Regions from separate parts of the Homo sapiens genome. Here all the other regions are linked to region 5. The links are contacts of gene promoters, found by promoter capture Hi-C in blood cells and fetal thymus (Javierre and others, 2016). All regions are on one chromosome and are shown on one strand. Each heading gives the region's core, a stretch centred on a gene start or on the middle of the fragment in contact. The rest is flanking DNA. Distances are from core to core; before and after follow the strand shown.

Region 1 (5,108 bases), core at 620-3,119, 330 kb before region 5:
GTGTAACGCCCCTTCACCGCTCAGGCCCCATACTGGTACTTTGGGTGCAGGTGCTGGGCTTCAGAAATAAACAGGCTAATTGAGCCGGAGATGGGGGGTGACACAGAAACCAGGGAGTTGACTAGATTTGTTTTGCAATGAAAAATATACAAACCCATTTACTGGAATACATGGCTACAAAACACTTGAAATTCCATGCAGTGAATTTTGAATTTTCATCAAATGCATATTAATTCTATTTCTTATATGAAAATTTCTGTGTTTTTTTTTTTTTTTTTTGAGATGGAGTTTTGCTCTTGTCGCCCAGGCTGGAGTGCAGTGGCATGATCTCGTCTCACTGCAACCTCTGCCTCCCAGGTTCAGGCAATTCTTCTGGCTCAGCCTCCTGAGTAGCTGGGATTGCAGGTGCCTACCATCACACCGGGCTAATTTTTGTATTTTTAGTAGAGACGGGTCTTCGCCATGTTGGCCAGGCTGGTCTCGAACCTCAGGTGATCTGCCCGCCTCGGCCTCCCAAAGTACTGGGACTGTAAATGTGAGCCACTGCACCTGGCCTCTGTGTGTGTTTTTAAGCATCAAGAGGTATAGTTCTATGAAGAAGCTTTTTGAGCATGAACTCTGTGTGGTGAGGTGCACCTGGCATAGGAGTCCAGCAGCCCACATCTGAAAGGTGGCAGGGCAAGAGGAGAAGATGGGCTTATTTTGTGATTGGCAAACATTCTTTGCTAAAATGATGTTTTGAGAGTTTAAAATTTAAACTTTAGCTATTGATGTTTTTTTTTTTTTTTGAGATAGAGTCTCACTCTGTCACCCAAGCTGGAGTGCAGTGGCACAATCTTGTCTCACTGCAACCTTCACCTCCCAGGTTCCAGAGATTCTTCCGCTTCAGCCTCATGAGTAGCTGGGATTACAGGCATCCGCCACCATGTCGGGCTAATTTTTTGTATTTTTAGTAGAGACAGTGTTTCACCATGTTGGCCAGGCTGGTCTCAAAACTCCTGGCCTCAGGTGATCTGCCCAACTTGGCCTCCCAAAGTGCTGAGATTACAGGCATGAGCCACCAGGCCTGGCCAATTTATTTTTTAGCTTAAGATATATTAAGAGTTTAAGGTCTTGGAGAGGCACCCCCATGGGTGCACGGGTGAGATGTGCGGACCCCAGAGAGGCCTCTGTCCCTGAGGCCTATCCAGCCTGCACCGCTTCCCTGGGCAGCAGCACTTCATGCTCCCAGACTGTACCCACCTCCCACTCTCTGAGCAAATTTCAGTGAACACCCTCAATAAGATTCATGTGACATTTGTCAAATGCTTCTCTAAAATTCGAGAAAATATTCCATCTACTTCTATTCCTTTGAAGCACTAATTTTCGTCTGTCAGGAAAAAAAAAGTGGAGGGGGGCGGGGAAGAAAAAAGCAATCACATGTTGCCTGGCACAATTTGTACTTCGCTATCCCCTACCCCCAATACTGCTGATTGACTCCCAGCTTTTTTATTCTCCGGGATATGTGTACAGGCCCCCTCCTTCCATGCAGTTCTGATTGTCTTTGGTTTTTCCATAACTAGGTTTTGCAAAGATGCTTTTTACAAAGACCAGCCTTTAAAACATTATTAGTGAAGCACGTGGTCCCTAATTTGACAATGTAATCCCTTGGCAAATACACAAAGTAGCAAGGGAGAGTAGAGCAGCTCCTTTTCTAAGTCTTAAAAAGGCAATGAGGGTGAAGACTCTGACCACGTTTCTCTATCTGGGGATTAAAAAGAGAGTCGAGATTCACTTTCACTCTCTGGAGCTTCTATGTCAGGCAATGACCTGAGCATATTTACAATCAGTAGTGACTTCATTTAAATTTGGGAAACCAGGGCTACGATGGTTCAAACCCTTTCTTGGTTATTAAGGCGTAAACCCTTTCTTGATGATAATTAAGGCAAAGCGAGACTTCTGTTCTGAAGGCAGGAGATGGGAATTACAAATCCATGGAAGTGATGATAGCATTTCTCACAGCCTTACTCTCTGAGGTCTTTTCTTTCAGGTGTGGGGTGAAGAGGAGATGGTGGAAGGTATGGACATAGAGCCTCTTTCCTGAACTACAACTCCAAGCACATGGGTGGACAAAGAAATTTGGGCCCCTTCCAAGTACATGCATCAGTCATTTGGACTCTGAGATATTGGAGTATCTAGGCCAGTGCTATCCAATAGAAATACAGAGTAAGCTACACATGTAAATGTAACTTACCATTTTCTAGTAGCCACATAAAAAAGTAAAAACAAAAAACAAACAAACAAAAAAACAACAACAACAAAAAAAAACAGATGAAGTTAATATTTAAAACAATTTTTAAATTTTTTTATTTTTTTGAGATGGAGTCTCACTCCGTTGCCCAGCCTGGAGTGCAGTGCCATGATCTCAGCTCACTGCAAGCTCTGCCTCCTGGGTTCAAGTGATTCTCCTGCCTCAGCCTCCCAAGTAGCTGGGATTACTGGCACCTGCCACCACGTCTGGCTAATTTTTGTACTTTTAGTAGAGACGGGGTTTCACCACATTGGCCAGGCTGGTCTCAAACTCCTGACCTCAGGTGATCCACCCACCTCAGCCTCCCAAAGTGTTGGGATTACAGGTGTGAGCCCCCACGCCTGGCCTGAAATTAATTTTAATAATATATTTTCATTAACCCAATAAGCCTTGAATATTATCATCACATGGAATAGAATAATTATTGAGACATTAATTTTTTATATCACATTTTTGAAAAGTATTGTATATTTTATACTTACAGCTCACTCAACATCTTAATTAAGACAAGCCCCATTTCAAGCATGTCATACCACATGTGGCTGATGGCTATTACATTGGATAACACAGGTCTAAGTCACTTTGGCAATTTACGGAGATAAAAAGATGGAAAGGAGACCATAAGACAGATTATTTGAAATTGGGGTTGTTCTGAAAATTATGGGAGATTGGGGAATGGAAAAGGGTATAGACCCTTGTCCACGTCCCTCTGGGGAGTCCCACTGTATTAGTATCTTCATGGCTCTCACAGGTGACAAATAACCTGGTGCCAGCAGAATCCAAGAATCTGCAGGAAAAATTATGTCTTGTTGAGAAATTCCCTATGTGTAGGACGCTTATCATGGTGGGAAGCTTGTCTGGTGATAGCTAGGAACGATCTGCAAGGTGGAAAACGGTGCGTGGGTCAGTGCAACCACTGTGGCCTCTCCTTGGCCCTTGGGCTCCCCTAGCATCAGAAATAGATTTCACTGAATCAAGGGATTAGCTGTTCACCCGTCCTGTTAAGGCTCATGAAAGCAGAGCTTGTGAGGAGTTCAGAGTTACACATACCTTGGGAATTATTTTGTAGTCCCAAACTTCCTGTCACTGATACCTGGCCATCCTGACATTTTCTGCTAATCTAAAAATAAAGAACAGGGAGGAGCAGGCCAGAGAAGTCAGAGGAAGTGGCATCCTGAATGACTGTGTTTAAAATCTCCTGCCAGTAGATATTATCAGTTAGAAGGACTGATAAGGCCAACGATCTTAGCTTCTCACTGGTGAGAAACTGATGTGTGGATGGGGCTGTCGTAGCAATGAGGGCACAGTCACTCCCTGGAGAGGCCAGGAGACCCTGCCTTATTTATTCCCTCAGCTATTAAATGGGTTCTGTTGGCATCAAGGGGTCTCAGTAAACTCATCAGAGAAAATTCTACCCACAGCACCCAAGGGCACTGTCTCAGAGGTCATTGTCATCATCTTTATAAATACAAAGCAACAGATGTTTGCTATCATAAGATATTCTAGGTCCTTCAAAAGAGGCAAAGACCTTGGCAGGGCTCTCTTTGCCAGTGGAGTCCGCCTCTATTTGATCATCATAAGGAAGTAAAACTTCCTCGGTTTACATACCTACTTCTCTTACAAAGTTTGGGAAGTCAAATAGGGAGCAAGACCTTCTGCAAATGTCAGCCCCAGACTCTGTTAGGGTTGCGTGTTGGTTACTTGTTTTCTCAAGAATTTCTCTTTTCAACTTTTAAAGAGCGAGCATACAAACCCTGCAAACATTTTATTGAGAGAAAGCCAAGGGCACACCAATGAGATGAGAACAGCCCTGGTTTCTCATTCTTCTGCAACATAATATTAAACATGGATAAGCTAAAGGTGTATGAAAAAAATTACAAGAAAGATATTGTGAAGTTGTTCATAATTGGAAAGATGAATAGATTGGATTATTATAAGTCAGCCCAAGGTAGGTAAATTATCTTGACCACTGAGAGTGATGGAGAATCTGTTTATATGTGTTTCCTTGGGGACAATTAATTAGCCAGCCAGCAGGACTTCCTTCCTTCCTTCTTTCCTTCCTTCCTCCCTTCCTTCCTTCCTTCCTCCCTCCCTTCCTTCCTTTTTTCCTACTTTTTTTGCTAGAATAAATTAAAACTATGATTACTGAATAGTCTTGGCTCTTGGGTTTAGGGCCTGGCTATTTAGTTGAGGGAAGGCTGTCCATTCCTCTTTGTGTGTTCATCCATTTGGTCAGCAGATACTAAGGAGGGCCATCTTATACAGGGCACTGTGTTGAGACAGGGAGGTGTGGGGAACCATGTTTTTGTCAGCCAGAGCTGGGTGTGTTAGAAAGGGAAGAGGTGGGGCTGAAGCTTCTGCAGGCAGCTGCGCTGTAACCTGCTGTCTAGAAGTTCCCAGGCAGCTCTGCCAGTCTTGCTCCTCAGCTCTGGCTTCCAGCCCGTTGCTTAGAGGGCTAGTTCTCCCCTCCTTCCTTGCTTCCCTCTCCATTTATTTCAGTTCCGGCTTCCATGCCAGCGAAGAGCCACTTCCTTTGACCATTCTTCTCTGCTCTAGTAGGTTGTCTTCACTCCCTGAGAACTTGGTCAGGACCATCTGCATCAGAATGATCTCAGGGTCTTGTTAAAAATGCCAGTTCCCAGACCTTACCCAGACCTACTGAGTTGGAATATGAATCAGCATCTGTTGTGGGGGTGGAATTTACATTTCTGATAAGAGGTGGTGGTGAGCCACCACAACTAAATTTTGAGATTCCCCTCTTTCAAACCATGTTACATTTGGCAACATGAAGACGGAGGGGGCTTCAAGGAGGCACAAA
Region 2 (4,634 bases), core at 1,030-3,529, 460 kb after region 5:
GACAGCCTGGGCAGGCTCCTCTGGGGACTCTGTGAAGCACATGGTGATAACAGTGCTCGCCTTGGGCACTGTTGTTGCTGCAGGAATTAAATGAGCTTCACCAAATTACAGGACCTTTACTGCCTGTAAATTACTTAGCACATAGTAAAAGCTCATTAATTATTAGCTAAAATAAAGTGATAAAAATCTATCATTAAATTGTCAGCACAGCCCTGCAGAGGCAACCTTTTAAGTATTGTTATCCTTCGCAGATGAAGACACAAGGTTCACAGAAACTGACTAATTGGCCTAAGATAACTTACAGTACAAAAGCCAGGATTTCAATCTAGCTTTTTGAGACTAGAGCCTGAGTGAACTGTTTCTCCAAAGCCAAGGCTTCTCAAACTATTGGTGGTGAAGAACCAAATTTTTTTTCCCAATTCCTCTCACATCAGTAGTTACGTAAAATACAATAAAAATGGGGCCAGGTGCGGTGGCTCACGCCTGTAATCCCAGCACTTTGGGAGGCCGAGGCGGGTGGATCATGAGGTCAGGAGATCGAGACCATCCTGGCTAACACGGTGAAACCCCATCTCTACTAAAAACACAAAAACAAAATTAGCCAGGCATGGTGGCGGGCACCTGTAGTCCCAGCTACTGGGGAGGCTGAGGCGGGAGAATGGAGTGAACCCTGGAGGCAGAGCTTGCAGTGAGCCGAGATCTCACCACTGCACTCCAGCCTGGGCGACAGAGGGAGACTCTGTCTCCAAAAAAATAAATAAATAAATAAAAAATAAAAAATAAAATAAACAAATAAATAAAAAAGCATGGATTCCAGAATCATGAAATGAGAAAAAGGACATTTGAAATACAAGCCCCATTTTAAAAAGTATTGATCTAACAGGCATAAAATTACTCTTTAAAATTACTGTAAAAGTCACTTACACTCCATTTCTGTACTTTTCTCATCTTGCATCTTGAAAAGCTTTCTCAGCCTAGCACTTCTCTGCAGATCTCACTTTCAGTAGCACTGTTCTCAGCGACCTGTTTCTCACCACTTGCCTGAGAATTAATTACCTGGGGTGCTTATTAAATGCAGATTTCCAACTTCCCCCCAATATTCTCCCAACCTCCCAGACTACTTGAATCAGAATGATTGAGACAGAATTCAGGAACCCGCATTTTAACAAGTGATTTTAATAATTTGGGTGTGCTCTAAGTCTGAGAATCACTGTGCTCCTCAGTGTTGCCTCCTCTCTACAGATAACAGATAAGAGGGTAAATAGTGAAGTGAGTGCAGTGTTTTATTCCGGCCCCCCTTCTTGCCCCGTCTTCTTTTCTCAAAAAAAATTTTCAAAGGCTTCCTTTCTGTAGAAGCTCACTGACAGAACCGACTTTCCGGACTCAGTGCACTTCAACAAACAGGTATTGAGCTCAAACTGCAGGGGGCTGGGTAGGTGGAGAGCTGACCGCAAGATGCTCACAAGCAGTAGAGGGTGAGTATAGGTAGAGAAAGGGCAGGTCTAGGGCATTTCTGTGCATAAAGTGGGGCAGAAGAGAAGGAGCCAGCAACGAGACCAGTAAGGCATTACCGGTAAGGCAGAGAAAAGCCAGGAGAAGTATAGGTTTTGGAAGCTAGGTGAAGAATATGCATCAAGGAAGAGGAAGTTATGGACTGCTGATGAGCTGAATAAGATGAAGACTGAACATTGACCATTTGGTTAGCAATGTGGAGATCGTGGAGGTCCTTGTGACTCTGACAAGATCAGGTTCATGGAGATGGGGAGGCCTGGTTGGAGTGGGTTCAAGTGAGAGTGGGAAGATAGCTATTGCAAACAAGACTATGGACTGTCTTTCAAGGAGTTTTACTGTAAAGGAAAGAGAAATAAGGCATTTTAAAGAAGAGAAATGAGGTCAAGAGGTTTAGGGTCAGGGCAGGGAAGTGGAGTTTATTTAGAACTCATGCAATAAGTGGCTCAATATATGACTTCTCTAAAGTCATATATCTTTTAGTTAATTCCTTGAGTAAAACAGAAACAATTGTCTATCGTGACTTTTTTCTTCAAGCTCTTTAAAACTCTCCCCACTCCCAAACTATATCACTGTCTAAGAAGAAAGGAGTTTGAAAATCAGTCTTGTTACATAGCTTAATTTGAATACATCCAAAAAATGACATTGCATTATTTTCATATTTGCTGAATCTATTTTTTGGCTGGAGTATTTTAAAGTAGATTTTTAAAGTAGATTTCATCTCTTACTACTTCACATGCATAGGACTTTTTCTTTATATAACCACAATACTTTTATACACCTAACAAAATTAACAATAATTTCTTAATACCATATAATAACCAATCTATGTTCCAATATCCCCATTTGTCCCCAAGGTGAATCAAACCAAGATTCAGACAAGGTGTACGTATTACATATTATTATATCTGCGAAGCCATTTGTTTTTTATTCCCATTTACTTGTTGATGAAACCAGTTCAGTTGTCCCATAGGAAGTCCTACCTTCTGGATTTGTCTGATAATTTTCCTTTGGCGCTATTTGACTTGTTCTTCTTTCTTCTGTATTTCCTAAAAACTGGAATTGTGTATGACAGCTTGATAATATACAGATTAAACATTTTGGGCAAGAATTTTTCATAGGTGGTTAGCAGGGCGTGGTGGTGCACGCCTGTGATCCCAGCTACTCGGGAGGCTGAGGCAGGAGAATCGCTTGAACCTGGGAGGTGGAGGTTGCGGTGAACAGAGATTGTGCCACTGTGTACTCCAGCCTGGGTGACAAAGCAAGACCTTGTCTCTAAAAAAAAAAAGAATTTTTCATAGGTGCTTCATGTCACGTCACATCAGAAGGCACACACTATCTAGATGTCTCACTGTTAATGATGCTAAAAGACTGATCAGGGTCAGGTCACGGCTGCTTGACTCACGAGAGGTGTTTTGATTTTGCTTTTTAAGAGCAGCAGCGTGTCTATATGTTGATGGGAGTAATCTTTGAGAGAGGGATACTTATCAATTAAACAAAGGGGTGAGGTTTTCTAGAACAACTTTCTTAAGTAAACAATAATGTGTAGGATCTAGTGGACAAGTGTTGGTTATTGCAAGTGTTGGACATAGCCAGTTCATCTATAGTAATGAGGCATATGGACATAAATGCAGATAAAGGGGGCTCTGTTAGGGGGTTTGAGGAAGTTCTAATCTGGCAGCTTTTGTTTTCTCCATGAACAAGTAGCAAATTCATCACAGGAGAGGGAGATTGAAAGGAGGAAGTCAAGTAGTGGGCGAGTGCCAGATGAATAGACTGGACAAGTAGCATGTGATTTCTGAAAAGCATTAAGGACCTCCTGGCAGTTAGGGATCGCGAACTTGAAGTGAAATCAGTAAGCATTGTTGTACAATTTTCTCTAGCCATGCTCAGTTGCATGTTTGCTGGTGTGGAGCAGAACAGAGGGTTGGATTTAACCAGGATTGAGTTTTAGCCAATCATGTGTGATCAAAGAGGGCAAAGGACTCATTTTAATGATTTTGACCATGGAATTTAAGCTGTGTAGGAAGGGAAGTAAGAATATGAGGAAAGTGAGGAACAGTGACAGGTGGAAGGATTAACCACAGAAGCTTGTTGGAGTTGGGGTACTAGTTGGAATAGGCTGCATATAGACAGGAGTGGTAATTGGAGATGGGATGCCTGAACTCAAGATTATGGAAGGTATTGTTGGGAAATAACAAGATCAGAGATACAACTCTGGGAGTGAGTGGCCGTGGTCACAATCACTGGGGTAGAGGAGATCAAAGGACTGTGAGGCCAGAGGACTAGAATATCCTAAAAGTGGATATTAATATCACAAGGAGTTATGATAGAAACAGTGTTGGAGCTAAAATATTCAGGCAACGAAGCACGGTATTTTGGGTGGGGGAGAAGATGGCTGCAGCCAGGTAAGTGGGGTCATAGGTAGCGCTGTCTGCACAGGGTCTCTGTGAGGATGACATGCATTGATGCATGTGATGCTCTTCACTTTGAGCCTGACAAATAGCATGTGTTAGAGGTTCAGTCTAACACTTGCTAGAGGCAACAAGTGTTAGAGGTTCACCATCTGAGTCTATGTGGCTCCAGTGAGTAGAGCTTAAAACACTGGGTTTATAGTTATTCATTTTTTATTTTATTTTTTAGACAGAGTCTTGCTCTGTTGTCCAGGCTGGAGTGCAGTGGTGCAATCTCAGCTCACTTCAACCTCCGCCTCCCGGATTCAAGCGATCCTCCTGCCTCAGCCTCTCAAGTAGCTGGGATTACAGGCGCCCGCCACCACACCCAGCTAATTTTTGTATTTTTAGGAAAGATGAGGTTTCACCGTGTTGGCTAGGCTGGTCTCGAACTCCTAACCTCAAGTGATCTGCCCGCCTTGGCCTCCCAAAGTGCTGGGATTACAGGTGTGAGCCACCGTGCCCAGCTGCAACACTGGATTTATTTTTACAGGGAAGTTGATTTTCATTAACTTTAATATATTTCTAAGAGGCAGAGCTACTCACACAGTTGTGTGTGGTCTGGGGCGGTAGTAAATTCCCTGTCATTCAGTGTATCCAACAGGCAAAATGAACATTTGCAATGATGGTGCCGTCAAGGTGATTCTGGCAACTGAAGGTGATGGGTGGGTA
Region 3 (5,108 bases), core at 2,503-5,002, 310 kb before region 5:
CTGAATCCGCACTTATGTTTCTTTCTCTTTTTAACTGGGCCTTGTACTACCGCTGCCATAAACAATAGCTTTGGTGTCAGCCAACCAAAGACAGGGTCAAATTCTCTTTTCAGAGTCCTTACTCCAACCTCTCTGAGGGGTCTAGCTGAACCCGGAGCAGAAATCCTGGTTTGGAGGTTGGGCAAATGGCTGCGTGCTGGGCAAGCCCAGCCCAGAGTATGCAGACAGCCCCGGGCCCGGGGCCGGCCAGTAGAGGGCTCTCGAGCACCGGCCCGGACTGGGAGGAAGCCCAGGCTTTCCTGGCCTTCTAGCCCAGGTGCTGTAGGGGCCGCATCACAGAGACCTGCAGCTCACCATTAGCCGCAGACACAGGGACCACGCCTCCCACCAGGCCTCTTTACAACCCCATGCTAACGAGAAGAGAATAGCCAATGAGTAAGTGGCAGGAGGAGCAAAACAACCTCAAAATCGAATGATTTAGAAAACAAAAGTGATTCCATTGAACAAGTAATTGTCTTGATCCTAAAATGACCCCACAACGGAACACCAAGGCAGAACTCTGAGTCACTGTCTAGATTTCCAAACTGCTGACTGACAATGATAAGAAAACTTTCTCTTCTCTGATGATTCAGTATGAAGACACCAGCTAACAGAGCCTTGCAAATAAGTTAAAATAATTTACCAGCCTGTTCCTCCTGTCAATCAAATGAAAGGTGTGTGCAGTTTTCCCCCTCTTATAAAATAACTTTTTCTAGGACAAGCTACAGGAGGCCACTTCTCAAACAGAGTTAGCCTTCCTGGGCATCCTGAGTATCTCCAGGAGTCAGAGTCAGACGTGAGAAAAAGCAGAGAAAGGGAGTAAAATGGCAGGAAGGAACAAGTTGAGAGACGAAAGAAAAAAAAGGTGACAAAAGAGGCATCTTCATTGGAGTTTAAAAGGGAGGGGGAGAAATAAGAGGTAAAGATTGTGATCTCCATACCCTGGAGTAGGCCCCCCATTGTCCAGGTTGAAAACTTGTTTGGGGTTGAGCAGATAGTGGAATTTCCGAAGAATTCTATGGAAAAAAAAAGAAAAGGAGGGAGAGAGAGAGACAGAGAAGGAATATGTCATCGTGAGAAGTCACATTAGGGCAAACACCTCTGGAGCCCACTGGTGGCAGGGATGAGGGTTCATTTAAACCCCGGAGGGGAGGGCACTGCCTGCTGACCCTGGCGTCCAGGTTCCACCTGGCATCACCCGTGTTATCACTCCCGGTTCAAGGCTGAACTACCAACCTAGACTCCAGCTCCTAAGCCCAGAAGCATCGCCCCTTACAAAGAGGACAGGGCAGAGAAACCCAGAGAACAGAACTTTCATTCTAAAGCTTTATCCTCCACAGAGACCTTCTCCCAAATGTTCTGTATGGTCTAGGCAGTGTGATTCTGCCCTCTGCAGACTGTACAAAAGCATCACAGGACCCCCTCCTCCCCAGGGAGAGGCCCCCTGCAGTCCTGGGATCAGGAGGAAACGCAGGAGGTGGTGTTGGGCTGTGGGGGAGGGAGGGCGCTGAGAGGCCGTGACTGCACCCAGGCCTGCTTTCCTGGCTCCAGCTTGGAATTGTCAGGTCAGTTCAGGAGGGGTGTCCTGCCCCTTGGACAGGGGTGGGGGTCCTCATAGTTCTTGCTTTAACTCTACTAATTATTATTTTTTAACCTGGATTCCAGATCACGGTGCCATCTGTTAATGATCCCGGAATTGGGAGGCAGAGCTGCTTTAACCATTCTCCCTGTCCACCTGTGCTGTTCAGCAATTTCTAGCCTCCGCTGAACTGGGCATTTCAGCAAACTGATGAGGTGGATGCACTGGCTTCTCACGGGTGACGGTAGCCCAGCAGGTCCTAATCAACGGGCTGCCCATCATCTCTTAAATCAAGAGATCTGAGAGGCTAGAAAGGCACAGGCATCTCAGAGCGTGGTCTAACTCTAGTGGTCTTAATAATGGCTCACGTGGCAGGCTGTGGGCTAAGCACCGTGTCTGTTCTCACCTGTGAGAGGAGGAATGATAATTATCTCCATTTTACAGAGGGAGAAACCGAGGCCCGGGGACATTAAGTCACTTGGGCCAGGTCATAAAGTGGCAGGTGGCAGTGCTGGGATTTGAGTCTGCCTGTCTCCACAGCCTGCTGTGTTCCTGCCAAGGGGAGGAAGGGCCTGAGTCGTGTCGCCCTAGTTGCTCCACTTTGAAACAGAAGAGAACGTACCTTTCTCCTTGTCTCCCTCCACTCTTGGGGTTCACCAAGACCAGCAGGGGGTGGGTACCCGGGGTGGGGATGATCTTATACTTGAAAGGTAAAAGAAAAAGAAATTAGCTCTGCTTCATCCAATAGGGGGCGTGAGATGAGAGTTGAAGCCAAGACAGCTTCGGAGAGGCAGATGAGAAGCAGGAGGGCAGGCAGTCAGGTGTTTTTCCACTGGCTGAATTTTCGGAGGGGCTAAGTAGCTAAGTGTCTCCAGTTTGAATGGCCTTTAAGTAGTGTTAACGGAAATGAGGGTTTGAGGTCAGGATCAGCGATGGGACAATGATGCTGTAGCTTCAAATCATTCAACGATGACGTGGTCTTGTACCTACAGCACAAGATGAAATTTTGTGGGAGACACAGCTGAATATGATCTTAGAAAGCACGGCCGTCTGATCATACGCGTAAGTGAAATAGCACTCGTGGAGTGAACCACCCGCTTCCACCCTGGCGCCTTCCAAATGCTCATTTCCGGCCCCAGTTTCCTCCTGAACCCTGGTCCCACATTTCTCACTGGCCAGTGGGTAGTACTGTCGACTGGACGTCTCACCATCAGTACAAGCTCAACATGCCTCATACATGACCCATCTTCTCTCCCTATGAAACTCGGCCTTTCTCTTGGTTCCCTGTTTCTGTTATTCATCCATCCATCCAAGGAAGGTCTTGTCCTGCCAAGTCTTTCCCTGAAATGTCCCTTTACCTCTGGTAGCTGCCACAGCCCCATGCTGCTTGTGCCTTTCCCACCCTAGGTAAGTCCTGCACACCATCCCCACACAGTTCCTTCCCAGGACACCAGGTCAGCCATACCACTCTTGCCCAAAAACTTGTAAAGACATCTCATTATTAAAGGAGGATTTGGATTTTGTGGATAAAATGTAAATTTCCTAACCTGGCATCAAAGGCCTTTTCAGTCTAGCCCTATTCTACTGTTATCTCCTAATTCCTGCTAACCCTCAGCTGCAGGTGCAGCCAAGTCCTGCTCTTGCTCCTCTAGTAAGTCTAGAGTGTGTCTCTTGCATTCCCACCCATGGGTCTGCTCGTGCTTGTTTCTTCTCCCATTCCATGTCCCGAAATGCCCACTTCCTTCTTTGCAGACTACTAAAAAAATTTTTGGCTGGGCATGATCACTCACGCCTATAATCCCAACACTTTGGGAGGCCGGGGCAGGAGCATCACAAGGTCAGAAGTTCGAGACCAGCCTGGCCAACATGATGAAACCCCGTCTCTACTAAAAATACAAAAATTAGCCGGGCGTGGTGGGAGGTGCCTGTAATCCCAGCTACTCGGGAGGCTGAGGCAGGAGAATCGCTTGAACCTGGGAGGTGGAGGTTGCAGTGAGCTGAGATCTCGCCACCGCACTCCAGCCTGGGCGACAGAGCAAGACTCCGTCTCGGAAAAGAAAAACAAACAAACAAACAAACAAACAAAAAACACCACCACCACCACCAACAAAAACCTGCTTATCCTCAGGGCTCAATTCAAGAGACATCTCTATGAAGTTTCCCTTCATCATTGCAACTAAAATGATTGCACTTAAAACATGTACTATTGGCTGGGCATGGTGGCTCATGCCTGTAATCCTAGCACTTTGGGAGGCTGAGGCAGGCGGATCACCTGAGGTCAGGAGTTCGAGACCAGCCTGGCCAATATGGTGAAACCCCATCTCTACTAAAAATACAAAAATTAGCCGGGTGTAGTGGCGCATGCCTGTAATCCCAGCTACTTGGGAGGCTGAGGCAGGAGAATCGCTTGAACCCGGGAGGCAAAGGTTGCAGTGAGCTGAGATCGCACCATTGCACTCCAGCCTGGGAGACAAGAGCGAAACCCCATCTCAAAAAACAAGCAAGCAAGCAAGCAAGCAAGCAAGCAAACAAACGCACCATGTACTATCTTCTGGAGTTTCTTTTGTTGTTCATTTGTATTTTTTTTTTTTTTTACTTTCTTAGATAAATGACTCAAAACATCAACTGGATTTAAAATGCATTGGGAGCAGAGTGGGGTGTGTGTAACCCTACTACCAAGGACCCTATAGCACCAGACACAAGAGTGGGTGCTCAGCAAATACTTGTGGGTTCAGTGGAAGGATACACCAATGTGGACGCACAGCTCTGCTCCATATTCAATATCTAATGCCTGCTTTTCCAGATCTCAAGCTAAAAGTCCAGCAAACACAGTGCCATGTTGTTTGAAAAGGATAGTAGCATTTCCGATGATCTAAAAAATTTGTCTCACCTGCCCAGGGTGACTATGTGATGCCCAGAAGCATCTTGGAGGCTGAGGAATAAACCCTCACCTCTGGAGATGATATTCAACGTATTTAACAGCCAGTCCTACAGTGGGGGCTCTGCCCCATCAGAACAGATGCAAGACAACCCGATGGCTGCCTGCCCTAAACAACTGGCATACATGTATCGGGTGTGGATATGCATGCGCCTGTGTGTGTTTCCCACCTTTCTGCCCTTCTAGGTGTCTAGAGCTTTCTCACATATTAAGATTCTCCCCTCATTCGGCCTTATGTTTCACTTTTCTTTTTCTTTTTTTTCTTTTGAGACATAATCTCCCTCTGTTGCCCAGGCTGGAGTGCAGTGGCAGAATCTCGGCTCACTGCAACCTCCACCTCCCAGGTTCAAGCGATTCTCCTGCCTCAGCCTCCCGAGTAGCTGGGATTACAGGCACCTCCCACCACGCCCGGCTAATTTTTGTATTTTTAGTAGAGATGGGGTTTCACCATGTTGGCCAGTCTGGTCTCGAACTTCTGACCTTAGGCGATTTGCCCGCCTCAGCATCCCAAACTGCTGCGATGACAGGCGTGAGCCACTGCGCCCGGCCTTT
Region 4 (4,818 bases), core at 1,922-4,421, 360 kb before region 5:
TGTCCCACTGGACTTTTCTCTCCCTTCAGTTTACTCTTCTTTTTTTTTTTTTTTTTTTTTTTAAGACGGCGTCTTTCTCTGTCTTGCGCAGGCTGGAGTGCAGTGGCACCATCTCAGCTCACTGCAGCCTCTGCCTCCTGGGTTCAAGCGATTCTCCTGTCTCAGCCTCCGGAGTAGCTGGGACTACAGGCGCCCACCACCCACACCTGGCTAATTTTTGTACTTTTAGTAGAAACAGTGTTTCACCATGTTGGCCAAGCTGGTCTCGAACTCCTGACCGCTGGTGATCCACCCGCCTCGGCTTCCCAAAGTGCTGGGATTACAAGTGTGAGCCACTGCACCTGGCCTAGTTTACCCTTCTAAATCTCTGTGCCTCAGCTTGCTTCCCCATAAAATGGGGATAATAATCTCTGGACTACTTAGCTCACAGGGTTGGTTGTGTGACTTTGAAATAAAGGCTATGGTGGGGAACTGAAGATGGCGAAATGTAGTAGCAATGCCTCAGTGGGGTTATTTGCTGGCCTGGGGCTGGTGGGTCGTGTGCTGGTTCTCAAAGGCCTGGCCTGTTGTCTGCAGCAACCACGTTTAGAAGGTCCCTTAGCATAGCTGCTCTTACCAGCTCTTCCTGAGGCCCCTGACACTCTCCCATCTCCCTGCAAGGCTCTGCGGTCTCCTTACACCTGTTACCCCCATGCCTCGCCCTGTCCGTCTCTCTTAGTCCCCCTCTAGATCACAAGGCACAGGACCATTCACCGCTATTCTCTGGATACAGAAATGGTGCCTGCCCCAATCCTGAGGGCTGTCAGAAGCTGCCCATCACATGACACGCTCAGCCCCACTCCCCCAGCTAATCCTCATGAATAAATACTAAAAAGACTCATTATGGAGAGATAAGGAAAACAGGAAGTGCTTCTGAAAGCTCCCAACAACACCCTCCCTCCAGACCAGTGAACAACCCCACCCCCTCCAGAGGCCACCAGTGTCTTTAGCAACGAGGCCCCCTCTGCGGTTGAGGAAGAGCCTCTGTCTCTCAAACCCAGAGGGGACTGTGGGGCCTGGAGCCGGGAGGGCAGGCCAGAGGCAGGGGAGCTGAGTTGCTGTATTCTGGGCACAATTTCAAGGCCAGCTGCAGGGAGAACAAGCAGTCGCTGTGCGCCTGCAGCTGGCTGTGGTTAGGCCAGGGCTGTCCCTCACTTGTGGTATATTTAAAGAGACCTCACCAGACGGCTGTGCCAAGGGGAAAAAATGCACACATATCCCTGTTAGCCACACTCGGTTCCCCTGCCAAGGCCTCTCCTCCTTCCTCAGCTCCCAGCACTGCGTTCACACGTCAAGAGAGGAGGACCGGCTTCTCAGACTCCCTGTGTGCCACCTGGGGACACACAACCTGGCGCCTGGCCTCTCTGCCCTCTTACCAAGCTGGCCAAAAGTTCAGGGGATTAGCCAGATCGGCGCCTCCCACCCTGGCGTTGGTAACCCAGCAACCGAAGAGGAGAGGCAGGCAGATGAGTCAAATGCAGCCGCACAGAACCTCTGGCTTCGTGTTTTGTTTGTGAAAACTCCCTGTGAGTGAGGAGCACAGGGGCCCTTCCGGCAGGGAGGGGCAGGGCTTTCCTACACCACTCCAGGCCACAGGTGCCTCCTCCAGGGAGGCCCAGGCCCCACTGGACTGCAGTGCGGGCTTAGAGGCCAAGCTGGTGGGCCAAGAGGAGCCCACCCTGGCTGAACTCTCTGGCTGCCTCTTCCACTTATTTTCCTCAAGTGAAAAGAAGACTACGGGCCTAAATCCCACGGGAAGGTAGGCCTGGTAGCAAGAACTCTGGGCAAGAGAACCAATGGGCGTAAAGTCCCACGGAGCAGGTGTGCATAGAAGTTTGGGCTTTCAGGTGGCCAGACACCAAGGAGCTGTCCTCATGGCAATCAATGAGAGGGCTTCCGGAGCGAAGCCCAGCCAACGTGGGGTGAGAGGGTGGGAAGTGGGCAGCTTATCAACCAGGGGAGGGGAGCCAGCAGGCAGACTGTCTGAGGCAGGCCCCTACAAGTGCCGGAAGAGTTAGTGAAACACAAGTGCACCAACAGGATTGGCTACATAATTTGCGGGGCCTAGTTCAAAATGAAAATGCCAGCTTCTTTGTTAGAAAATTATCAAGGATTTCAAGACAGTGACAGCATAGGATGAAATCAAGGGCCCTTCTAAGCACAAGGACATTTTGTGACCACACAGGTTGCACACCCACAAAACTGACCCTGGGTACCTGTGAGTCAGCTCGCTGAAGCAGATGTGAAAATCAAGGCAGGTCAGCTGGGGGATGTCTGGCTGCAGCCCCTATACTCCCCACCCCTGCTGCCCTGTAACACCAGTTCCCAGACTTTTACCAGGCTTGGGACATTGTCTCTCCAACAGCAGCCCCTCTCCCTGTGCTGACGGCAATGGAGACTTTATCTCTCAGAAAAGAGGGAATCGCAAGGCCACGGTGGAAGGAGGGCTGAGGGCTGGAATGAAGTGTGGCTCTGGGCTCTCGGGGCCTCTGAGTCCCAAAGCCCCCCAGGGATTCTCTAGACAGGCCACTGGAGCCTTCTGAGTGAGCGTATGGAGGTGTTTTGGAACAGGATGGAGAAACAACAGAGACTACGCTCTGGGTCACCTCTTAAGGTCCCAAGAGGATACATCCTGTGCATGTGTGACAGTCCAGGAGCAGAACCAAGATCCAGGAAGCCTTCTCCCCACTTGGGAACTTACCTCCAACTCAATGTGGTCGTGGAGTTTCTTGCAGGTCGCTGCAAAAGTCTCCGAGGTGCCAAATTCAAAGTACCACAGCTTGTTCTTCATCCTGGACCACAAAGCAGAGAGATGTCTCAATATTCCATACTTGAAATGCTCATGTAAAATAGCTATGTTCTTTGGATTGGGAGGCCCAAGCCTTCAGCAATTTCCCCAATCTTACATTTTCAGCACTTGTTAATCAGATGATCAAGGAATAGAAATTTTTTACCAACTGTTCTTGCTCGGAACTTAGAGAAAATCCACTTATTTCTTAGACATCACGGCAACCCTGGGTGAACTACCAACTGCTCCCCGAGTTTCCTGGTCAGAACAGGAAGAAGGTCTCTGTAGCTGCATTAAGGAAAGAGCTCTACGAGAAGTCAAGCCAGAGGTGGCAAATATCAATACAGTGCTCTGGCCACTGTCCTTTCCATTACTCAGGCAGAACTCTCTTTTGGGTATGTTTGGGGTGTAAAGGGAAGATCCTTCTAAGACTTGAGGGATGTGCAGTCTTAGGACAGAGGAGGGATAGCCCCACACTAACCCAGCTAAAATGTGTGCTGCATTGCCCAGGCTCTGACTGGGGGAAGCAGAGTGGCAAGAATTAGATACAGACTTGCAGGCAAGTTGGAAAAAAAGAAGAGTTGATTGGTAGCAATAATCACCTCCCCTCTTCCTCAAATGTATTTGCTTAGGCCATGGCAATCCTTCAGTTAAGGGCAAGACTTGTCATATTTGCTTCAAAGTAAGAGTTCACTACTTTGAGCTTTAAAAATTTTCAGCATTTTCCTTGAGAGAAAAAAAAAATCAATCAATGGGGTTCCCGTGTAGCTGGGGGCTTTGCAAAGTCAGATGGTGTGTCCTGACACTTGGTGCTTTTGATCAGATGGTCTCACTGGGAAGTGTTTCTGAAGGTATTCCATTCCTTCCACCCCAACTGTCACCCCATTATCAGGGGTTGGCTAAGAGAAGGGACACCTGTCCAGTTTACGAGCTGACAGATTTTGCTAAGGAAGGATTAAACAAAATCACATTCTTCTTGGCACTCAGAAGAGAGGATGCCACCTTGCATGGCGCTAATCCTCTCTCCTCAGGTTTGCAGATGAAGGGGAAAGGAGCAGTCTTCAGAGGGAAGAGGGCTCTTATTTTTTCCTCATGTTCCTTAGGTTGTAGCAGATGACTCTCCAGAATAATAGACACAACTCTTTTCTGCAGATTTCCCCAAGAGTCTACCTAGAACTTGAAGATGAAACTGTGTTCTTCCATTGTATGAAGACTTCTGAGATCTAGTTGGTTGGGAAATAGCTTCTCTGACTCTTAGTATGCATGAAAAGAACTAATAAATGATGAAGAAAGTAAGAGTAAGCAAGCTCTGGGAATTATGCCTCATGAACAAAATTAGAAGAGCTGGGTGTACTGTAAGCAGACCGGTGCTTCTCAACCCATGTGCTGTGGCACAGGCGTACCTGGGATGTCAGTCTCCTCAGCCTGCAGAGCAGCCAGGTGGGATCTGGGACAGGCTGAGCCCCAATGCCATGGCAAACATTCTCATTTGTATTCCCAGTGTGCCACACATAGATTTTCATTTTCTATGCATGCCATGATGATGTAAAATAATTGGGGGAAACATTGTTCTAGATGACTGGTTCTCTGCATGCACAGTCATGTGCATATCTAATCACTTGGGGATTTTATGAAGATGCACATTCTGATTCAGTGATTTAGGGTTAGGGCCCAAGATTCCTCATCTTCAGTGCTGCTGGTCCAGGGGATACTGTGAGTCATGTGGATCTGGAGACTATGCCTGTGGTTCTCAAACATTGGTATTTATAAGAATTACCTGGGGAATGTGATTAAAGTGCTGCTTCCAGGGCTCCAATCTGTAGAGATTCTATGAGAGAGTTGTGGAACGGGGCCCAGGATTGTGCATTTTTATGTGTGTCCAAGTGATCATTATGCAGATGGTCAGTGGACAGGACATTGCTGTAGATCCCAGTGAAATGAAAACATGGAAAAGGACAGAACCAGTTAAACCTGAAGGAGAGAATTCTCCA
Region 5 (4,727 bases), core at 1,308-3,807:
TGCACCACTTATTAGCTCAGTGACCCTGCTGTTACTTGTTGAGTACCACTGTGTGTCTGGCACAGTGGTACGCACTAGAATGACAGAAGTGAACAAAACAGACAAGGTCCTTGCTTTCTTGGAGTGTATAACAGGGAGAATAGACAATACATATTAAGGAATAAAATAAGATAATTTCAAATAGTGAAAAATGCTATGAAAATTGGGGCGGGGGGTCAGGGAAGGCCACTTTGTGGTGCCAAATTTGAGCTGAGGCCTGAAGAGTAAGAAGCCAGCCATACAATGATCACCATCCCAGTAACTTTGACTCAAAAGTACTTCAGCACCTACTCCATGCCAGGCACTGTTCTAAGGTGCTCTTTTATACAGCTGTGAACAGAACAATATAGATTCATGCTCTCATGAAACTGGCATTTCAGTGTGTAAGTCTAGGGACCAGGGATGAAAAAAATAGGAGGCCGGGCGTGGTGGCTCATGCCTATAATCCCAGCAGTTTGGGAGGCTGAGGCGGGTGGATCACTTGAGGTCAGGAGTTCGAGACCAGCCTGGCCAACATGGTTAAACCCAGTCTCTACTAAAAATACAAAAAAATTAGACGGACATGGTGGTGTGCGCCTGTAGTCCCAGCTACTCGGGAGGCTGAGGCAGGAGAATCGCTTGAACCCAGGAGGCGGAGGTTGCAGTGAGCCAAGATCACGCTACTGCTCTCCAGCCTGGGCGACAGAGCGAGACTCTGTCTCAGGAAAAAAAAAGAAATAAAGAAAAGAAAACAGGGTGGTGTAAGAGTAAGGAACTCAGTAGGGGCTAATTTTGATTAATTGGTCAGGGAAAGTCCTCCCTGAGGTGGCGACCTTTAAGCTGATATATGAGTTAAAGAAGGAATCACCCATGCTAGCACATGAGGGAGAGTACAGTGTTTCAGGCAAAGGCAATAGCTAGCACAAAGGCCCTCGGCAGGAATGAGCTCGGTGTATACAAAAAAAAGAAAGGAAGCAAGTTTTGCTGGAGCATGGTTAGGAGTATAATAGGTTTACAAAGCATAAACGGCTTTGTAAACTAGCATGGAGTTGGGATTTTATTCTAAGTGCAAATGAAGAGCCATTCCAGGCTTTTAAACAGGGGAGTGACATGATTTGACTTTTATTTTTTATTTATTTATTTATTTATTTATTTTGAAACGGTGTGTCACTCTGTCGCCCAGGCTGGAGTGCAGTGGCAGGAACTCGGCTCACTGCAACCTCCACCTCCCAGGTTCAAGCAATTCTCCTGCCTCAGGCTCCCGAGCAGCTGGGGTTACAGGCGCTCGCCACCACACCTGGCTAATTTTTGTAGTTTTAGTAGAGACAGGGTTTCATCATGTTGGCCAGCCTGGTCTCAAGCTCCTGACCTCAGGTGCTCCGCCCGTCTCGGCCTCGCAAAGTGCTGATTACACTTTGGGTGGGTGAGCCACCGCGCCCGGGCTTTTTTTTTTTTTTTTTAAATCATGGAGTGAGGGACAGGGATGAGCAACATATATTAAGATATTAAGGAAGATATTAAGAGTGGGGGCAAGGAGGCCAGTTAGGAGGCCCTGGCCAGGTGAGAGATACACTGTGACCCAGAATCCTGGTAATGGAGATGTAGTGAACAGATTGAAGTATAGTTCAGAGGTAAAGAGTTGGATAGCTTATGCATGAAAGGAATAAAAACACCTAGAGCTTTGTCCTGATCAACTAGGTGTTGTGTAACTGCGATGAGCAAAATCGGGGGGAAGATGGGGAATCAAAGAGTTCTGCTTGAACCGTAATAATGGTTTTTACTCGTTGCCTGCTTACTATACGCCCGATGATTTACCGATTTTTTTCCCTGTTAAAATTCACAGAACTGCCAATAAGTGCTTTGCCTCAGTTTTGTTGATAAACTTAGGCTCAGACTTGGGAGGAGGGGAGGGGTGGGGGGTCTCACCACTAAGAAGCGGTGGAAGCCGAATCCGAACTTAAGTCGGTCTGTCATCACTGTAGCCTTTCCGAGACAGTTGTCTTATGGAGTTGCTTGGAGAACGTAAAATAAGAGGCCTAAGCAATGCGTCTGATGTACACCTGTCGTGGAATAACTGTTCCCGCTCATTCGGCCGCTGTACCTCTGCTCCCTCATTCGGAGCGTAGCTGGGTATGAATGAAATTCCGGGCTTGTAGCACAGAGAAAACTTCTCTCCCACAATTGGTTGGTGCTGGGGAGGAAGCTCCTGATTGGTGGAAAGTCCGAGGAAGTGGGCAAGCCGGAGGGATTTCGTGTACCTCAGGTGCCCTCACTCTGACCGGCCCCCTATCATTACGTAATTTTCTACGACTCGCGGTAGCTCAGGCAGAGCGGGTTCCTGCAGCGGCGCGACCCTCTGACGTCTCCGCTTCTAATTGGTCAAGAGCTGCGACTGCAGTTCTGAAGCCTAACTGGTTGCCCGTGCCGCCTCGGAGGTGAAGTGTACTGCGCTGATTGGCTTCCAGGCGCCGGCCGCGTGTGATGTCCCGGGCAACGATTGGCTCTCGCCTACCGGGGGCTTCTCTCACCGGGACTCGGGACTCCCGGGAAGTGGACCGGCAGAAGAGGGGGCTAGCTAGCTGTCTCTGCGGACCAAGGAGACCCCCGCGCCCCCCCGGTGTGAGGCGGCCTCACAGGGCCGGGTGGGCTGGCGAGCCGACGCGGCGGCGGAGGAGGCTGTGAGGAGTGTGTGGAACAGGACCCGGGACAGAGGAACCATGGCTCCGCAGAACCTGAGCACCTTTTGCCTGTTGCTGCTATACCTCATCGGGGCGGTGATTGCCGGGTGAGGAACAGACACTCGCAGACAACGGGGCCTGTGGGTCAGCCTTTGCTGGGGGGTGGGAGGGGGTGGGGGAAGTGGCATTGCCAGACTGACGGAGTGGAGAGGGGCATCGCTGTGGGTTGGCGGGGTGGCGGAGGAAGGGGTAGTATGGGCCAGGCTAGTGGGGTGAGAGGAGAACCGTGGGTGACACCAGTGAGAGGGCCTTAGGTCCAGAGAGGGTCTTAGGTAGAGCTAGATTTGCCCAGAGGAGTGGGAGTTGGATGCATTGCCAAACGGCATTTGGGGGATGAGGGAAAGAAGGTGGTTGCGAGCTGAAGCAGTGTCACGTAGAGCTGGGGAAGAAAGAGGGATGCCTGACTGTAAGGAAAGATAGTGACAGTGCCAGGCTGAGGTTGAGGGGATGGACGTTTGTTTGATCAAAGAGGTGAGTTGCTGTGCCCCGCTGAGGTGGAGAAGCGGACGATGCTCTATGCCAAGCCTTCGAAGAGCCATTCTGGGGCTGACATTAAAGTGGGTGGATGATGCCAGCCCGAGTTGGGACTGAACGAAATTGGATGCGGGATGGGAACAAGAAGATCTTTAGACAGCCCTTGTACTTCCCAGCTTCTTGAGCTATTTATTATCTTAAGTTGCTTCATCTTTAACATTCTGGCAGTGCTACTGTTAGGACATTTATGTGGCATAATCTTTTTAAAGAAGGAAAATCATCCTTTGAGAGTGTTATTTGACTTTTAGAAAAGTCAAAATCATTTGGAGCCAGTATAGGGAAAGGGGGGAAGAGTTAATTTGATTATATGGTTATTGCCTAAAGATAACATGAGACCATAAAATAAGGAAGTGGTTTTCTTGACCGAAGGTGGTTCTGAAAGAAAAGTGCCACAGATGTTTTGAATAATCCGAAAAGAAGTATATAGCCTCTTACTGTGATTACTTCAATATATAAGATTCATTACAAATTCTGGTGTTCTCTCTTTAGTCATTCTTTGTGTGTGTATGTGTCACATAAACCTTCATTTTTATACCTCTTTGCTCAGATACAAACCTAAATGTAGAGGAAAAATAAATCTTTTACTTTGAAAAATGTAACATGTAACTCTTTAATGAAGTATTCTCTCCCTCTACTTCCCAGACGAGATTTCTATAAGATCTTGGGGGTGCCTCGAAGTGCCTCTATAAAGGATATTAAAAAGGCCTATAGGAAACTAGCCCTGCAGCTTCATCCCGACCGGAACCCTGATGATCCACAAGCCCAGGAGAAATTCCAGGATCTGGGTGCTGCTTATGAGGTGAGTTGGGAAAAGTGATAAAGTACGAATAAAATCTGTAGCTCTAGAAAAAACATACAATACAGAGAAACACTCCTTTCAGCTCACATTTATTTATTTATTTATTTATTTTGAGACTGAGTCTCTATTGCCTAGGCTGGAGTGCAGTGGTGCAATCTCCGCTCACTGCAACGTCCACCTCCTGGGTTCAAGCAGTTCTCCCGCCTCAGCCTCCCAAGTAGCTGGGATTACAGGTGCATGCCACCACACCTGGCTAATTTTTGTATTTTTAGTAGAGACAGGGTTTCACCCTGTTGGCCAGGCTAGTCTTGAACTTATTATAGATTAATAAGTAGATCAACTGATTGGTCTGTCGTTCAATCAGTTTGGGAGCTAGAACCAAAAATAAAAAGAAAGCCTTCATGAGAGTTGCAAACCTGCATGTTCATATGAACTAGACAAATAACATGCAGGGCAGGTATAAGTTAAAACATGGCAGCAGATATTCTGCCTCCATATTGGGAAGCAATAAGGATTGTTGAGGACTTTGACAAACTGAAGCCTTCTGGCCCCATTTCAAGGGAGCAGCTGTTACTCAACCCCAGCCAGTTTTTGTCATACAAATGCAAACAGTATGTTCCTGGATGATTTAATTTTTC
Region 6 (4,437 bases), core at 388-2,887, 340 kb after region 5:
TTTTTGTATTTTTAGTAGAGACGGGGTTTCACGGTGTTAGCCAGGATGGTCTCGATCTCCTGACCTCGTGATCCACCCGCGTCGGCCTCCCAAAGTGCTGGGATTACAGGCGTGAGCCACCAAACCCGGCCACATTGCACTGCTCTTTAGAGAAAAATCTGATTTTTTAAAAAACCCTGAGAGGTGACTGGATTTTTCTTTCTGAATATTTAAAGAATTTTTTTTTTTGCCTTCAACTTTAACAGGCATACGCCTAAATATCTTTTTTCAACCAATATTGTTGGAAAACAATGCATCTTCTTGAGTGAAAAACAGAATCACTTTGGAGAGATTTTCCTGTATTACATTTCTAGATAATTTCCCTAGTTAATTGTTGTAACTCTTATTTCCAGGACAGTAGTAGTTGTTATGTTAGGTGGTTTTTATCATCTATTCTTTACATGTCTTAAATTCCTTATCCTTTCTTTCTATTTTCATTATGATTATACCAAGCCTTCCTTCCACAAAAATAATTTGATGCTCGGTTGGTTCTATTGTGTTACTTGGTTATTTTTCTAGGTTATTTGTTAGATGTAAATTGGGATTTTGCTACACAACTTGTTTCTTTAGTACTTTAATCTCCCTTTTAATCTTATGCTGTTATTTTATCCTTTTGTCTTTGTGTTCTTATTTTGTTAAAATCGTATACTTTATTAGAATGTGATATATGTCTGAAGAGTGATAAATTCACAATGAGTATTGCACTGTTCCTTGGCTTGGGCTACGTTTTCTTCCAGATTGGATTACTTTTCTCTATATCGAATGCTTTCATAGCTTCTGCCCTGTTTCTTTTTGTTATCTAGCCCGTGATTGACACAGACGGTTTGGTAATCTCGTTCCATTATTTGGTTATATGTGGGTGACTTCTCCTTGAAGCCCTTCTATCATGTGTAAAACCCAGTAGTCGCCGGGCGCGGTGGCTCACGCCTGTAATCCCAGCACTTTGGGAGGCCGAGGCGGGCGGATCACGAGGTCAGGAGATCGAGACCATCCTGGCTAAAACGGTGAAACCCCGTCTCTACTAAAAACACACAAAAAAAATTAGCCGGGCGTAGTGGCGCGCGCCTGTAGTCCCAGCTACTTGGGAGGCTGAGGCAGGAGAATGGCGTGAACCCGGGAGGCGGAGCTTGCAGTGAGCCGAGATCCCGCCACTGCACTCCAGCCTGGGCGACAGAGCGAGACTCCGTCTCAAAAAAAAAAAACAAAAAAAAACCCAGTAGTCTTTCCATCAGGACTACAGGGGCTGCTTGCTGTCTACATTTCCGTAATTTGAGGGCATAGGGAAGGCATGGAGCTGCGCACAGCCCTTGCTAGAGGACCTGGGCATGACACTTTCTGAGATCTCATTAAGATGTCCAATTTTGTACCCCGCTCCTGTGTGCCTTCCCTAAGCCAGCACATGCTCTGGAAGCTGTCAGGCCCTGGCTGTTCTGCAATTTCTATGGTGGTATGTAGTGGCTTCTGCTTCTAAGCATTTTGTCTTGACTTTTCTTCAAGCTTCCTTTTCATCCTCTCAGTCAGATTCTCTGCAGATTGAAACAGGGAGAGCGATTCCTAAAAATTATTAGAAATATTGCCATTGTATCTACTTCCCTTCACACTACTTCTAGAAAAGGTAAGTATGAAATTATGATCCCTGTGTCACCACACCAGAACTTTATATTTCTTCCTCTGACAACTTCTTTTTGACAGCTAAGGCATAAGCTTGAATCTCTTTCCTTGCTGCTGGTAGATTTTTTGCAATGTCATTTTGGAAGGATATTTTCAACGAATATAGAATTCTAGATTGCCAGGTGTTCTTTCCTTCTCTCCCTGCAAACACTTTAAAGATGGTCCACTATCTTCTGGTCTCCATATTTTCTCTTTTCTTTTCTCTTTCTTTCTTTCCCTTTCTTTCTTTCTTTCTCTTTCTTTCTTTCTTTCTTTCTTTCTTTCTTTCTTTCTTTCTCTTTTCTTTCTTCTTTCTTTCTCTCTTCTTTCTTTTCTCTCTCTCTTTCTCTCTCTCTCCCTCCTCCTCTATCTTTCTTTCTTTTTTTTTTTTTTCAGAGTCTCTCTCTGTTGCTCAAGCTGGAGCGCAGTGGTGCAATCTCGGCTCACTGCAACCTCCGCCTCCTGGGTTCAAGCAATTTTCCTGCCTCAGCCTATCGAGTAGCTGGGACTACAGCTGCGTGCCACCATGCCTGGCTAATTTTTGTATTTTTAGTAGAGATGAAGTTTCACTATGTTGGCCAGGCTGGTCTCAAACTCCTGTCCTCAGGTAATCCACCTGCCTCGGCTTCGCAGAGTGCTGGGATTACAGGCGTGAGCCACTGTGCCTAGCCCTCCATATTTTCTCATGAGGATTCAGAAGTGATTCAAATGACTCCTCCACTATGTGAGGTATCATTTTTTTCTCTGGTTGCTTTCAAAATTCTCTCTTTAGTTTTCAACAGTTTGACTATGATAGGCCTATATGTGTCTTTATTTACATGTATGCTGCCTGGGGTTCACTGAACTTTAATTTATAAATGTATGTCTTTCAACACATTGGGGAACATTTAAGCCATTTGTTCTTCAAAATTTTTTTTCTGGTCTCATTCTCTCTTCTACTTCTGGAATTCAATTACCTGTATGCAGGTATTTTTATATTGTACTACAGGTCCCTGAGACCCTGTTCAATGTTTTCAACTTTTTTTGTCATCAGATTGGACAATTTCTATGGCTATAAAATTCTCTCTCTCTTTTTTTAAATCAAGTCCATCCAGTGAATTTTTAATTTAAAATATTGCATTTGTCAGTTTTAAGTTTCCATTGGTTCTTTTTTACATAGTTTCTATTTCTTGTTTGAGATTTCCTGCCTTTCATTCATTAAAGTATACTTTCCTTTACTTTGCTGAGATGAGTTGTAATACCTGCTTGAGAGTTCTTATCTGCTGCTTGGGGTTGGCCCAAGTTGATTGTTTTTTCTCTTAATCCTGGATCATATTCTCTGGCTCTGTGCTGTTTTTTCTCTTAACTTTGGATCATATTTTCTGGCTCTGTGCATGGTATGTGATTTTCGAGTATATTTAGGCATTATAAATTTGATGTTCTGGAGATTCTACGTCCTATTATGTTCTTCTGAGAATGCTGGTGTTTTGTTTTAGCAAGCACTTAACTTAGCTGAGCTCAAACTGCAAAACTCTATCTCTTGGGTCATTTTCACTACCATTAGGTAGGCTGATTTGAGCATGCCTTATGTGAGTGTGGTTCAGGAATCTGCCCAAATCTTGATCAGAGTTTATACACAGGATCCAGGTCTTTCTTACTCTGGCTCATTTCTTTCTAGTATCCTCCCACCTCCTGCTTTCTAGCATGCTGTATTAGAGTTTTAGCTATCCCACATAGTACCAACCTCAGCCTGTGCTCAGGCTACAAAACTATAAAAATAGGAAACTCACCCCTTGCCATTTCACTTATCCAAGTTTTGACTCCCCCCGGATTCTGTCTGCTTCTGTTTACTCTTTAGTGCCTTCAGGCTTTTTGTTTTTGTTTGTTTCTTTGTTTATTTCATCCAAAGTTTATATGTATTATCTGTAGGAAACCAGGATCTGGTAGATGCTTATTTGTCCATACCAAAAGCGGAAATTGATGGTACTTTTTTTCTGTTGCTTTTACTTTTGCTGTTCATTGTGTTAAATGTTGGGAGGAGAGAGATTATGTCATCTAGAGTCATTTTGCCATCTTTATCCAGAAGTTTTCTTGTGCAAGTGGTTTCTTCTTCTAGAGCCTCAGCTTTATAATCTATAAAATAAGCAAAAGAGTTTTTTGTGGAGTGTGTTTAAAGGTTTAGATAAGATAGTGCGGGTAAAACTTTTTAGCCCAGAGCTTGGCAGTTAATAAGATTATTACCGTTATCTTCAGTGTCAGTATCTCATCCCTAACATGGTGCCGAGTATGTAGCAAGAGATAAATAATGATTGTTGGATAAATGAATTAGATACATGAAAATAGAGAAGGAAGAGAATGGATACAAGCAATGGTGAAACTAACTACAGGAAACTGAGAAGCTGCTTCAAGGGTGGCATTTCCCCATTGGAGCTGGGCATGTAACAGACACACAGGCCTGTGGCCAGGTAGCTCTTCCCTCTGGCCAGGCTCTGTTACACAACGTGTTCTCTTTAATTTGTGCGGTGATTCATGACACAAGCCGCAGCACGAGGACGATCCTGCAGAACTGGGGGAAGAGTCTCCACATCCCAGCTTTGTACACTTTCCAGAAGGCACAGAGGAATTTTGGGGGGATTCTGGAGCCTGCGTGGAACTCCCTTGTTTCCTGAGCATTGGAGGAAATGTCTGAAAGCTGCATTTGGGTGGGGCAGTAGCAGAGACAGAATGGATAGGTTTGGGGATGGAGGAGGTGTTCATTCTCCAAGCGTG

The links. Contacts are between HindIII fragments. The CHiCAGO score rates a contact against its expected background, and 5 or more counts as called.
Region 1: a contact is called between a fragment that was not itself captured here and the fragment with the promoter of DNAJB11 in region 5, in 1 of 17 cell types (total B cells). The highest score is 5.1, in total B cells.
Region 2: a contact is called between a fragment that was not itself captured here and the fragment with the promoter of DNAJB11 in region 5, in 1 of 17 cell types (naive CD4 T cells). The highest score is 6.4, in naive CD4 T cells.
Region 3: a contact is called between a fragment that was not itself captured here and the fragment with the promoter of DNAJB11 in region 5, in 6 of 17 cell types (naive B cells, megakaryocytes, M2 macrophages and 3 more). The highest score is 7.0, in naive B cells.
Region 4: a fragment that was not itself captured here is called in contact with the fragment with the promoter of DNAJB11 in region 5 in 1 of 17 cell types (fetal thymus); the score reaches 6.6 in fetal thymus.
Region 6: a fragment that was not itself captured here is called in contact with the fragment with the promoter of DNAJB11 in region 5 in 1 of 17 cell types (total CD8 T cells); the score reaches 5.0 in total CD8 T cells.

Annotation. Positions count from the first base shown.
Region 1 is chr3:186,243,635-186,248,742 of GRCh38, forward strand. The region is part of intron 19 of DGKG (diacylglycerol kinase gamma); the gene reads right to left. Among named protein-coding and RNA genes, the nearest start is that of DGKG, 120 kb to the right of the region's middle. RefSeq lists an enhancer at 4,520-4,569. The HindIII fragment of the contact is 2,541 bases long and covers 600-3,140 here.
Region 2 is chr3:187,026,303-187,030,936 of GRCh38, forward strand. All of the region lies in intron 2 of ST6GAL1 (ST6 beta-galactoside alpha-2,6-sialyltransferase 1), which reads left to right. Among named protein-coding and RNA genes, the nearest start is that of ST6GAL1, 98 kb to the left of the region's middle. The HindIII fragment of the contact is 2,635 bases long and covers 963-3,597 here.
Region 3 is chr3:186,259,459-186,264,566 of GRCh38, forward strand. DGKG (diacylglycerol kinase gamma) reads right to left here. Exons shown (of 25, transcript NM_001346.3): 15 at 2,241-2,320; 16 at 981-1,055. Among named protein-coding and RNA genes, the nearest start is that of DGKG, 100 kb to the right of the region's middle. The HindIII fragment of the contact is 4,780 bases long and covers 1,363-5,108 here.
Region 4 is chr3:186,209,055-186,213,872 of GRCh38, forward strand. DGKG (diacylglycerol kinase gamma) reads right to left here. Exons shown (of 25, transcript NM_001346.3): 21 at 2,741-2,831. Among named protein-coding and RNA genes, the nearest start is that of ETV5, 100 kb to the left of the region's middle. RefSeq lists an enhancer at 874-1,501. The HindIII fragment of the contact is 8,579 bases long and covers 1-4,818 here.
Region 5 is chr3:186,568,163-186,572,889 of GRCh38, forward strand. It overlaps DNAJB11 (DnaJ heat shock protein family (Hsp40) member B11), which reads left to right and starts at 2,558. Exons shown (of 10, transcript NM_016306.6): 1 at 2,558-2,803; 2 at 3,933-4,089. The coding sequence starts at 2,736. It also overlaps a transcript of TBCCD1 not described here. RefSeq lists a silencer at 2,570-2,809. The HindIII fragment of the contact is 6,099 bases long and covers 1-4,727 here.
Region 6 is chr3:186,912,076-186,916,512 of GRCh38, forward strand. No RefSeq gene overlaps it. Among named protein-coding and RNA genes, the nearest start is that of ST6GAL1, 16 kb to the right of the region's middle. The HindIII fragment of the contact is 207 bases long and covers 1,535-1,741 here.